3 separate regions of the Homo sapiens genome follow, and regions 1 and 3 are each linked to region 2. Evidence: promoter capture Hi-C in 16 types of primary human blood cells and fetal thymus (Javierre and others, 2016). All regions are on one chromosome and are shown on one strand. Each heading gives the region's core, a stretch centred on a gene start or on the middle of the fragment in contact. The rest is flanking DNA. Distances are from core to core; before and after follow the strand shown.

Region 1 (4,457 bases), core at 1,329-3,828, 330 kb after region 2:
TCAAAGGAGACAAAAAAGGGCATTACATAATGGTAAAGGGATCAATGCAAAAAGAAGAGCTAACTATCCTAAATATATATGCATCCAATACAGGCGCACCCACATTTATAAAGAAAGTTCTTAGAGACCTGCAAAGAGAATTAGACTCCCACACAGTAACAGTGGATGACTTAAACACCCCACTTCCAATATTAGATCACCAAAACAGAAAATTAACAAGGATATTCGGGACTTGAACTCAGCTGTGGACCAAGCAGACCTAATACACATCTATAGAACTCTCCACCCCAAATCAACAGAATATAGAGTCTTCTTAGCACCACGTCTCACTTATTCTAAAGCTGACCACATAATTGGAAGTAAAACACTCCTCAGCAAGTGCAAAAGAACAGAAATCATAACAAACAGTCTCTCAGACCACAGTGCAATCAAATTAGAACTCAGGATTAAGAAACTCACCCAAAACCACACAACTGCATGGAAACTGAATAACCTGGTCCTGAATGACTACCAGGTAAATAATGAAATGAAGGCAGAAATAAAGATGTTCCTTGAAACCAATGAGAACAAAGACACAATGTACCAGAATCTCTGGGACACAGCTAAAGCAGTGTTTAGAGGGAAATTTATAGCACTAAATGCCCACAAAAGAAAGCGGGAAAGATCTAAAATCAACACCCTAACATCGCAATTAAAAGAACTAGAGAAGCAAGAGCAAACAAATTCAAAAGCTCTCAGAAGACAAGAAATAACTAAAATCAGAATAAAACTGAAGGAGATAGAGAAACAAAAAACCCCTCAAAAAATCAATGAATCCAGGAGCTGGTTTTTTGAAAAGATCAACAAAATAGACTGCTAGCCAGACTAATAAAAAATAGAGAGAAGAATCAAATAGATGCAATAAAAATGATAAAGTGGATATCACCACTGATCCCACAGAAATACAAACTACCATCAGAGAGTACTATAAACACCTCTATGCAAATAAACTAGAAATCTAAAAGAAATGGATAAATTCCTGGACACATACACCCTCCCAAGACAAAACCAGGAAGAGGTCGAATCCCTGAATAGACCAATAACAAGTTCTGAAACTGAGGCAGTAACTAGTAGTCTACCAACCAAATGAAGCCCAGGACCAGATGGATTCACAGCCAAATTCTACCAGAGGTACAAAGAGGAGCCAGTAACTAATAGTCTACCAACCAAACGAAGCCCAGGACCAGACAGATTCACAGCCGAATTCTACCAGAGGTACAAAGAGGAGCTGGTACCATTCCTTCTGAAACTATTCCAAACAATAGAAAAAGAGGGAATTCTCCCTAACTCATTTTATGAGGCCAGCATCATCCTGATACCAAAACCTGGCAGAGACACGACAAAAAAAGAAAATTACAGGCCAATATCCCTAATGAACATTGATGCAAAAATCCTCAATAAAATACTGACAAATCGAATCCAGCAGCACATCAAAAAGCTTATCCACCACGATCAAGTCAGCTTCATCCCTGGGATGCAAGGCTGGTTCAACATACACAAATCAATAAACGTAATCCATCACATAAACAGAAACAATGACAAAATCCACACGATTATTTCAATAGATGCAGAAAAGGCCTGCGATAATATTCAACACCCCTTCATGCTAAAACCTCTCAATAAACTAGGTATTGATGGAACCTATCTCCAAATAATAAGAGCTATTTATTACAGACCCACAGCCAATATCATACTGAATGGGCTAAAGCTGGAAGCATTCCCTTTGAAAACCGGCACAAGACAAAGATGCCCTCTCTCACCACTCCTATTCAAAATAGTATTGGAAGTTCTGGCCAGGGCCATCAGGCAAGAGAAAGAAAGAAAGGGTATTCCAATAGAGGAAAGAGGAATAGAAAATTTCCAATAGAAAATTTCCAGTAGAAAAGAGGAAATCAAATTGTCTCTGTTTGCAGATGACATGATTGTATATATCATCTCAGCCCAAAATCTCCTTAAGCTGATAAGCATCTTCAGCAAAGTCTCAGGATACAAAATCAATGTGCAAAAATCACAAGCATTTTTATACAGCAATAATAGACAAACAGCCAAATCATGAGTAAATTCCCATTCACAATTGTTACAAAGAAAATAAAATACCTAGGAATACAACTTTCCAAGGGATGTGAAGGACCTCTTCAAGGAGAACTATAACCACTGCTCGAGGAAATAAGAGAGGACACAAACAAATGGAAAAACATTCCATGCTCACTAAAAAGAAGTTGAAACAAATCTTGAATGAACCAATTATCTACCCATTTGAACTCATCTGATTATAGCTCCTCTGCCATATCTCCCCAGCTCTGTATTGTAATAAACTTTTCTGATACATGTGTATGAACTTTATTCCCATTTCAACAGCCCATTTCTTTAAAATCTATTTCAGTAGTGCATCTAGTAGCTTATGTATATTTATTACAAATCTCCTTTGAAATCCTGTTCTATGTAAGAATATAAATTAAGCCAAATAGAATAAATGCTCAACTCAAAGTGATATGGCTCTTAACTTTCACAGACAATAGCAAATATCTATTGGTTTTTTATTAAAGATTATAAAGGACTTTTTCAGTACTTCATTTCTTCTGTACTTTATCATTAGTTCTTCTTTATCTACTGGATCATGTTCATCAGTATAAAAGCATGCTCTTAGTATCACCCATCCTAAAAAAAGCAGTATATACAAAACACCTTCTTTTTAGGGGGAGCCAGGGGGAGACAGAGTCTCACTTTGTCTGGCTGGAGTGCAGTGGTGTGATCACAGCTCACTGCAGTCTCAACCTTTGAGGCTCAGGCAATCCCCCAACCTCAGCCTCCTTAGTAGCTGGGACTACAGGCAAGCACAGCTAATTTTTAAAATTTTTTTTTGTAGAGACTCACTCTGTTGTCCAGACTGGTCTCAAACTCCTGGGCTAAAGCGATCCTCTTGCTTCAGCCTCCCGAAGTGTTGGGATTACAGATGTGAGCCACTGCGCCTGGCCCCCAAACCATTTTTATATCCCAATACTCTTCTGGCTATTGCCCTGTTTTCTGCCAGAATGCTCACAGCCCAACTTCTGAAAGGAGATAGTTACATATGCTTTCTTCTTGTCTTTCACACACATCCCAACTCACAGCAGTGTCATCTTTCTAGCCTCATCTCATTCAACCTCAGCAGAATTTGACATAGCTGACCACTCTCTTCTTCTTGAAAATCTTTCCTTTTAGCTTCCATTATACTACTCATAGTTTTTCTCTAAATTTTTTTATACAACTCCTTCTTAAGTTTTTTTTTTCCCCCAGATTCCTGTACTCATAAATCAAGGCTTGCATTTTCCAAGCCTTGATTCTGAGGCCTGTTATTTCTTGTCTTTTTGTTTAAATACACCTATAGGAAGACTCTGCCCAGACTTTCTCTCTGAGCTCCTGAACATATACATTTTACATAGAGGTTTTATAGACATCTCAAACTTAACAAATTTAACACATCCAAAAAACAAACTTTTGGTTTTCTCCCAAAACCTGTTTCCTTCACATTCTCTATCATTAAATGATACCACAATCATCCAGTAGCTTAAGCCATAAATATAGTGATCTCTGGATTTATCTATTTCTCTTTCACCCTCACATCTAAAGTCTGTTGATTCTACCTTCAAAATAAAGCTTGAGTCTGTACACTTCTTTCTGTCTCTGCTACCACTGCCCTAGTCTGCACTAAAATCTCTCGTCTATATCATTGCAGTTCTTTCTAACTGGCTCTCCACTTCTATGCTTGCCCTGCTTTTATCTGTTCCTCTCAGAACAGAGTGAAGCTGCACATGCAAACCCTCCTACTTTTAGTTTCTTTATTTTGGTGTGATTTATGTACAATATAATTCACCATTTTAAATGTATACTTTAATGAATTTTGACAAATGTATATATTCATGTAACCTCCAGGCTGTAGGACAATTTTATTACTCCAGGAAGTTGCCTTGTATCTTTTTGAAGTTAAATTCCTCCCTCCATCCCTGCCCTGGCAATTACTGAGACAGTTCCCTTCTATTCGTTCTTTGCTGAGAGTCTTTTATTATGAATTGGTATTAAATATTGTCACATGCATTTTCTGCACTTTTTGAAATGATTATATGGCTTTTTCCTTTTAACTTGCTATTTTGGCAAATTACATTGATTAATTTTTTTATAGTTAAGCCAATCTTGCATTTCAAGGATTAATCCCACTTGGTTATGATGGGTTATCCTTTCAGAATAGTGTTGGTCATGCAGAAAGCAAGTATAGAAATAAAGCACTGTTGAATTTGATTTGCTAAAATTTTCTTAAGGAATTTTGCACCTGTATTCATGAGGGTTATTGGTCTATAGTTTTCTTGCAGTTGATTTGTTGGAAATGAGTGGGTAAGATTCCTGCCTCTCTTGTGTTTTTCAAAGAATATATAATGATATTA
Region 2 (3,870 bases), core at 221-2,720:
TTATCCATTCACTTATTGAAGGACATCTTGTTTGCCTCTAGGTTCTGGCAATTATGAATAAAGCTGCTATCAACATTCATGTGCAGGTTTTTGTGTGTATGTAAGTTTTTAACTCATTTGGATAAATACCAAGGAGTTGTGATTGCTAGATGGTATGGTAAGAGTACGTTTAGTTTTGGAAGAAGCTTCCAAATTGTCTTCCAAAGTGGCTGTACCATTTTGCATTTGCACCAGCATTGAATGAGAGTTCTTTTTGCTCCACATCTTTGCCAGCATGTGGTCTTGTCAGTGTTTTTGGATTCTGGTATCTAATAGGTATGTAGTGGTATTTCATTTTTGTTTTCATATACAATTCAGCAATGACATATGATGTTGAGCATCTTTTCATCTATTTGCCATTATATAACTTCTTTGATGACGTGTGTATTCAGATCATCTGACCATTTTTTTTAACTGGGTCATTTGTTTTCACGTTGTTGAGTTTAGACTTGATTTTATAGAACTCTTTTGCCAATGACATGAGGCTTAAACAAGCACCCTTGCTTGACCCTGGCTAGTGTTGTCCAGAGGCCCTCATGGGTGAAGTATAATTGCACAGTTTATGCATACATTGTAGCAAACATAGCTTAAAGACTCTTCATCCAGGAGCTGGTAACAGAGAAAAGTTGTCTAAGAGACATAGTCCACTGAAAGGGGTCTTTGAAAAGGAGGATTCTGGCCAGTAGATCCAAAGAAGAAGGCTGGCAAACGCCACCTTAACCAACTGATCCAAGTTAACATCAGTGATGAGACATCGACATCTTGTCCTTCTCGAGCACGTACATCACTTCTGGGGAACTCTTTCCCAAAAAAGCGCAACCTGAATCCAATTAGAAGGAAATGTCAGACAAAATGAAACTGAGGGACATTCTACAAAACGACTGGCCAGTACTTTTTAAATGTGGTTTGATCGTGAAAGAAAAAGAATGACAGAGAACCGTCCTAGATTAAAGGGAGACTAAGGAGACACGACATGCAATGTATGATCCTGGATTGAATCTTGGAACAGAAAAGGACCCTTAGAGGGGCAATTAATGAAATGTGGTAAGTGCTGTAGATTAGCTAATCGCATTATCCCAGTGCGAGTGCCCTGTGTTTGATCACTGCACTGGCGTTATATACAATGTCAATATTTAGAGAAGCTGGCTGAAGGGTTACGGAAATCTCTTGTGCTGTTTTTGCAACATTTTCGAAAGTCCTAAATTATTTCAATTCAAATGAAAAGTTTAAAAAACAAAAATTAGAAGTTCCAGAAGGCCGCGCGCCAGCCGCTCCTGCGGGACGGGACACCCGGGTTCTCCTGGTGGGAGCCCCCAGTGCCGTTCACGTTCCGCCCGGGGGGGGGATTAAACTCGCACGCGAGAAGCACCGCCCCCGCTCCCGCCCCGCCCCGCTCCTCTCCGGCCGCGCAGCCGCTGCCGCCCACCCGCACCCGCCGTCATGCTCCGGGCCGCGCTGCCCGCGCTCCTGCTGCCGTTGCTGGGCCTCGCCGCTGCTGCCGTCGCGGGTAAGCCCTTACGTAGTCCCTCGCCGGGACCGTGCGCGACCGCCTTCGCCCCCTTCCCAACGCACGCTCTTCGTCCCCGCGCACCCGAGGGCGGCCCGCAGACGCAACACCCGGCCGGCCATCCCGCCCTTCCCTGCACGCCCGTCCCCCGTGGGTCCTGGCTCCGGGTCACCTCTCACCCGCCTGCCCTCGGGGAGGGGAGGTGGCCGAGAATAAGGGAGGGCTCTGTCTTCCTCGGAGTCCACATCCTCACCGCAGACCCCACTCCGCGGGGAGGGAACCCCCAAATTAGGCCAGTTGGCCGGAGAACTGAGGGACTTGGAGTCGCACGACGGGCGCCGTTTCAGGGCAATTTCGGGCTGAAATGAGAAGCGGGGACGTTGGTGGCGATTTCCCCTGCTGGTGCGCGGCCGGAGTGGGGTTGCTGGGATGGGGGTGGGGGCCGGAGGAAGTAGGCCCTCTTTTGCAAGCAGCGCTGTTTGTCTAGTTGGTTGGTGTTCAAGTTGTTTAAACAGGAAAACAGTTCAGCCAAATAACCCCTGGATGGAAGAGGAACGGGAATAGGCAAAGCTTGGATTTCACTGAAATCAAGGAGTTTTAAAGTTCTAGTCTGCTGTTGTGCAAGTGACATCTGAAAAATCACACACGTGATCATTCATTTACAAAACGACTCGTGAGGAAAATGCACAATTCTATTGACCGTGGTCTTTATTTTTAAAAAATTTCCATACAAGCATGTCAAAAATATGTGGATGGGGAGACTCTGGAGAACACAGACTTCCAAAAACACCACTGACTGAATAATTCCAGGAATTAAAGAGCAAAATAAACAAGAACTAAATGAGTACTTGTGTGGGCTTAAATAAAGTGCAAGAGATTTAAATAAAATGCAAGAGATTCCCCCCCCCCACCCCTTGCCCCAGATTTCACTGCGTTTTTATAATAACTGCCTGCTCGAAGTCTACTGACAGGAATATTTCAGTGGACCTCAGTGTTGGAGGCAGCAGCAGCTCAGAACTTGGATACAAACCCAAGGTTCCTTTCTTGAAAACTTCTGTGGACCTGCATTTATGACTGGTTGTGACATCTGCTGCCTATCAAAGGGGCAGAAACAAGATGTGCCCATGTTCACATTGTTCAGACTGGGAACATTAATTTTGTCTAAGACAAAGCTGGGCTGTCTCTGAACCCTCCTTCTGCACACCCTCATTTTGCGAGCCAGTAACATCTCAACTCTCATGTAAACCACCCTCTGCGAGGCTGTGCATTTGTACTTTAGGCTAGTCGAATTTTCTTGTCAGATTTTTCTTTCTTGTCAGACTTTTAAAGAAAATCAGTTTCTAGATTTTGGTATGTCTCTTCTTCAGTGAAGCTGTTTTGACCAGCAATAGAGGGCAAATTTCCCTTTGGAAATTTTTGTGCATTTCCTTTGATAAGTCCAGTGTGGATCAATAGGCTTTTCAAGAGCTTTAGAAAAGTGCATGATGAATAAATTAATGTTAATTAATCAGCTCCTCCCAGTCAGGAAGCTTTAAGGATTAATTTGGAAATGAGTGTGAGCTTTGACCTAGCTAGTTAACCAACTTATCTGCACTTCAGTAAAACAGAGATAATACTTACTCATGGGGCTATTGGGAGCATTAAGTGGGAACTCCACGTCTAGTCCCTATTACAGGCGTGGTTCATCTTGGTTTCCTTCCCTTTATTCTCTTCATACAAAATGAAGGGTAATTGTTGCAACCAGAAAACGTATGAATACCACCTTATGTATATTGGATGTTTATGGTTACTGAACACATTCATATGTATGCTAATGTTATAGGGCTGAAAAACTAAGTGTGTTTTTCATAATACTTTACAAATCTCCCATCCAAGCAAGATCAGGGGTCATATTTGGCTTAGAACTAAGTCAAGAAAGAGTTTGTTGCTGAATACCAAGATCTTAATAGAAAAGCTCTTATGATGTTGCATAATAAATATGGGTATTGCATATAAATGTGATGTTGAAACGGAAATCATTGTTATTGTCTGTCATTCTGGAGGTTATTAGTGAAGTGATCTTAACCTTGTTCTTAGCTATTATTTTGAAAATCACAGTGGACAAAACATTCTTTAAATTCCTGAGTGAAAATCCATGGCATCGCTTTAAAAAGTTTTTCCGTAAGGGTGCTTAAGCACATAATAGATGATCAGTATGTATTTATTTGGTCAGTGGTTTCCTATGCCTGGCATGAGCTGAGTGAACAAGCATGTTCCGAGTAAGTCCTCATTCTGTGATCATCATGTGGATCAGAATCTAGGGATTTTGAATTGCCATGTCCTAC
Region 3 (4,196 bases), core at 1,096-3,595, 290 kb after region 2:
AAGTAAGAAGTCACTGTGACTAAAAATTAAGTGAAATAGAAAATTTAAAGAGGATAAGAAAATGTCAAAGCCAACTTCCATTTCAAGGAACCTGCTGAACTTGTGATGGAAGTTCTATTTATGAGGCTGTATAATAGCCCATATTTGAAATCAGATAGATAGGCCAGGCGTTGTGGCTCACATCTGTGATCACAACACTTTGGGAGGCCAAGGCGGGTAGATTGCTTGAGGCCAGGAGTTCGAGACCAGCCTGGCCAACATGACGAAACCCCATCTCTGCTAAAAATACAAAAATTAGCTGGGCATGGTGGCGCATGACTGTAATCCCAGCTAATCGGGAAACTGAGGCACAAGAATCACTTGAACCGGGAGGTGGAGGTTGTGGCAAGCTGAGATCATGCCACTTGCACTCCAGCCTGGGCGACAGAGGGAGACTCTAAATAAATAAATAAGTAACTTACGTAGTGCTGTTATTTTTATTTCAAAACGTCTCTACCTCCATTTTGAAACAACATGATCTCTTTTGAACCTCCGTTTTTAAAACGTTTAAGTTCCTTCTTTTTAAAAGTAATCATACCTTTAGTATAACTCTTACCCACTTTGTCCCTTCTCATTTTCTTATTTTAAAGTTTTTTGGTTATTCAATTTAGATTACTTCTCATGGTAGGAAGATTATAATGAATCCTAGATCTAATTTGATTCCTAATGTTTTAGTGCATTGATTGAAAAATACATCAAATTTTCCGAAGTCATATTAATCCCTTATACACAAGCAGACACACATTCAAAAACCCTTAATACCTTAGAACTTTCTGGACCTCTAGTATATGTGAAATTCAAATGAAATTTTTTTAGGGAGACCACTGCTTTTCTCTTCAAAGAAACACCTTTCCAACTCTTAGTTTTCACCCAAAACTTGGAATTAATATTCTTTCTAGATATAATTGTTTAGATTTTTTTTTTAACCTCCTCACTGTCGTAGTTGTTTGAAGCCTAACTTTCATTACTAAATCAGCTGTTGATCTGTTGCCTAATAAACTTTTTCTGGAGCCTATTTCTTCAAGTTTTGTACTTCTCTTTAATGTATCAGGCTATATTTTACACAGGAAACCTCAAGTTTTTTGTTCTCAAAACCATTTAGCTCTTCTTTGCAGCCACCTAATCTCTCTTTGACGACCATCTAAGCATTTTTCAGAAGGCCTTGATTTGTAATTATACCAGACTTTATTTTGGGGCCCCATGAATCTAAAACTTTTATAATTATAGTTTAGATAACTTAGTAGAAGTACCATTACTTTTATGTTGACCTGCTCCACAAAGTATTGCACCTGACACTGAACAAGAGATTTGTGTGTGAGTAATGGATTATTCATCAGTCCCACCAGTAGTGCCAGTTTTCAGACTCTGACCTCTTTGGATAGTTTATCTTGCTTGTTAGATTCTCTTGCTTGAATTACTCTTTCTCTTTTCCTTTTTCTTATCCTCCTTTCACTCTAGGACACAAATTACTGAGGGTGGAAAAGAACTCAGTACTCTCTATTATTTGTTTGTGATCCCAAAAGGAAAGTTTTCAGGGTTAAAAACTGAGAGGAGAAAAGACATTGTGGTAATGGTGTTTCCCTTGTTGGTCCTGTATTCTTATAGATAACACAGTTTCTGAAACGCAGGCTTTCTTTTTTAAGCTTTTCTAAGCTGTGCCTGAAGTATTCATAGTAATCTTCCTGAAAGTTTGGAGTTTTTCTGGACTGGGCCGATCTGGTTCTTTGCGGAGTTACTGCCCAAGTACCAGGAGATATTCCTCCATCTAAGCAGCTAATAGAAGTCTACATCAACCCTTTCTGGAAGCTTTTCTATTTCCTAATAAGTATCTGTATGTTCAAATCTGCTTGTTAATCATTCCTTAGACATGATGTTGAAATGGAACTTTGTGGATATTCATTTATCCTAGTGTAATACAGCATATTACAGCTCAGATCTCCTGGATAGCTGGGTCAGTAGGTTCCATTGCTAGGTCCAGTTTCCCTCCTGTCATCCTGGCTCGCTCTGGATATAGGTGAGGTAGAGCCTCAAGAAGCAATAGACCATGGTAAGGATTACCTAGCAAGGGATTCATGGGTAGAGAGCCTTACCCAGGTAGTCACATGTCCTTGTAGAAATTTTTTCGGAGGGGTGGAGGTCCTGCTACCACCTTTCCATATGCCTACTCTAGTTATAGTAAACTTGCCAGCCAGCCCTTGTAAGAGATTTTTGGGAGGGGCAGAAGACTCTTGGAAAGGAGAGATCCGTTTCAGATTCTCTGTCATTGTTGACAGGAGGATAGCTGGGAGTTCTCACAACTGTCCTTGTTACCTCTCATCCTGAGTGCTCATCTGGACACCGGGTAGATAGTTTATAATGTATTATACGCTTAGCTTGCCAATGTGTAACTATTCAGAGCCTCAGTTAGCAGTAAAGCCAATTATTTTTCAAGTCTTTCATTGTCAGTTTCAGGTTTTAGAAGCTGCCTTATACACATACCTGCTGTTACTTGTATGAATTGTTCTCCTTTTATTTTCCTACTTGGCTTTTGGGGCTTAAGATGATGATGAATTCTATATTCTTGCCGCCTTCTTATGGGACCTTTTCATCCAAGCTATCTGTATATTTTTCCCATTCTTTATATTAGCAGATATTTTCCCATTCCCTTATATTAGCAGATATTTTCTTTCTTTTTAAATTTTTGTTTGTTTTAGTGAGTCTTATAGCATCTTTAATATTAAGTACTGGGCCAACAAGACAGTGAATGTTAGTTATTATTTTCATTTGAACTTCAAAATTGACATAATCTGGCAATAGTGAAGCTTATAAAAGCTCTATGGCAGTGATTCTTAACCTTGGAATCTTCTGGAGGGCTTCCCAACCTGTTAATGCTTACATCCCCACCCCCAGAGATTCTGATATAATTGATCTGGAGATGGGCCTTGTCACAGATTTATATATATTTGAGATCCCCCATGTGTTTCTAATATGCAGCCAGGCTTGTGAATCATTACATTAAAGGAATTGTATGGTAAACTTGTTTATGAAGTAAAAAATTCATTTTACACTCAGAAAATACTTGAAAAACTACGAGATGACACTCTGCTGGAATTCTCTTCTATGAAATTACATATACTTCTTTGCTTCACTGTTTTCTAAATTAAGATTTTTATTGGTCAAGTTTTCTCTAAGTATATGACTACCTCCATTTACAATGAGCTTATTACTTTTATTTGAAGATATTGCATAAGTCATTTTCATAATATTATTCTTTGTCCATCAAGATTAAAATCAGTTGAGCATGATTATATAATAAATATGTAGCTTTATAAATTAAGTTCTATCATCTAAGGCAGATTGTGAAAGATAATTGCTCTCTGCACCTTTGTTTAAAATATAGCTTATATATACAGATTGAACTAGAGAACCAAATAAGTTCATGTAGAACTTTGATAGCTAAAGGAATGTTCTGGACTTGTGTTTTTATGTATTTGTATATAGTATTGCATATTTATATAAAAATTATCTTACGGTTTAAGCTGAGTAGAACCCTATTTGCCTTTTATGAGATTCCAATATATGTCTTAAGAGAGAAGGATGTTCAATATGGGACTGATAAACCAAATGTGACTGGATTAATCCCAAGGTATTGATGTGTTTTTAGTAAAATAAAATTAGCTTACACAAATAAACTAGTGGTGCCTAACTCCCTGCCTTTAGTGAATTTGAGAAGTTTGATATAAATATGGAAAAGCAGAGTTTATTGGCACAAATAGATTTCTTGGTTGGCAAGTTAAATTTTAAGGTTCAATCTGGACAGAGTGCTATGTGCCTGTAGTCTCAACTACGCAGGAAGCTGAGGCAGGAGGATTGCTTGAGGCCAGGAGTTAGAGGCTAAAGTGCACTAGGGTCTGCCTGTGAATATCCACTGCACTTGGGCCTGGGCAACATGGTAAGACCCTCATCTCTTAAAAAAAATTTTTAAGGTTTCAACACTTTATTAAAATTAAGAGGCCATTGGGAGATATACCTAATGCTAGATGACGAGTTAGTGGGTGCAGCACACCAGCATGGCACATGTATACATATGTAACTAACCTGCACATTGTGCACATGTACCCTAAAACTTAAAGTATAATAATAATAAATTAAAAAAATAAAATAAAGAAGTATTACAA

Evidence for each region. Contacts are between HindIII fragments. The CHiCAGO score rates a contact against its expected background, and 5 or more counts as called.
Region 1: a contact is called between a fragment that was not itself captured here and the fragment with the promoter of CD302 in region 2, in 1 of 17 cell types (neutrophils). The highest score is 5.2, in neutrophils.
Region 3: a fragment that was not itself captured here is called in contact with the fragment with the promoter of CD302 in region 2 in 1 of 17 cell types (neutrophils); the score reaches 6.5 in neutrophils.

What each region holds. Positions count from the first base shown.
Region 1 is chr2:159,469,877-159,474,333 of GRCh38, reverse strand. The region is part of intron 3 of BAZ2B (bromodomain adjacent to zinc finger domain 2B); the gene reads left to right. Among named protein-coding and RNA genes, the nearest start is that of BAZ2B-AS1, 140 kb to the left of the region's middle. The HindIII fragment of the contact is 2,198 bases long and covers 1,480-3,677 here.
Region 2 is chr2:159,795,808-159,799,677 of GRCh38, reverse strand. It overlaps CD302 (CD302 molecule), which reads left to right and starts at 1,470. Exons shown (of 6, transcript NM_014880.5): 1 at 1,470-1,546. The coding sequence starts at 1,480. The region is part of intron 33 of LY75-CD302 (LY75-CD302 readthrough); the gene reads left to right. It overlaps LOC124906083 (a long non-coding RNA gene), which reads right to left. Exons shown (of 2, transcript XR_007087273.1): 1 at 1,726-3,870; 2 at 1-859. The HindIII fragment of the contact is 1,931 bases long and covers 188-2,118 here.
Region 3 is chr2:159,504,136-159,508,331 of GRCh38, reverse strand. All of the region lies in intron 2 of BAZ2B (bromodomain adjacent to zinc finger domain 2B), which reads left to right. Among named protein-coding and RNA genes, the nearest start is that of BAZ2B-AS1, 110 kb to the left of the region's middle. The HindIII fragment of the contact is 995 bases long and covers 1,848-2,842 here.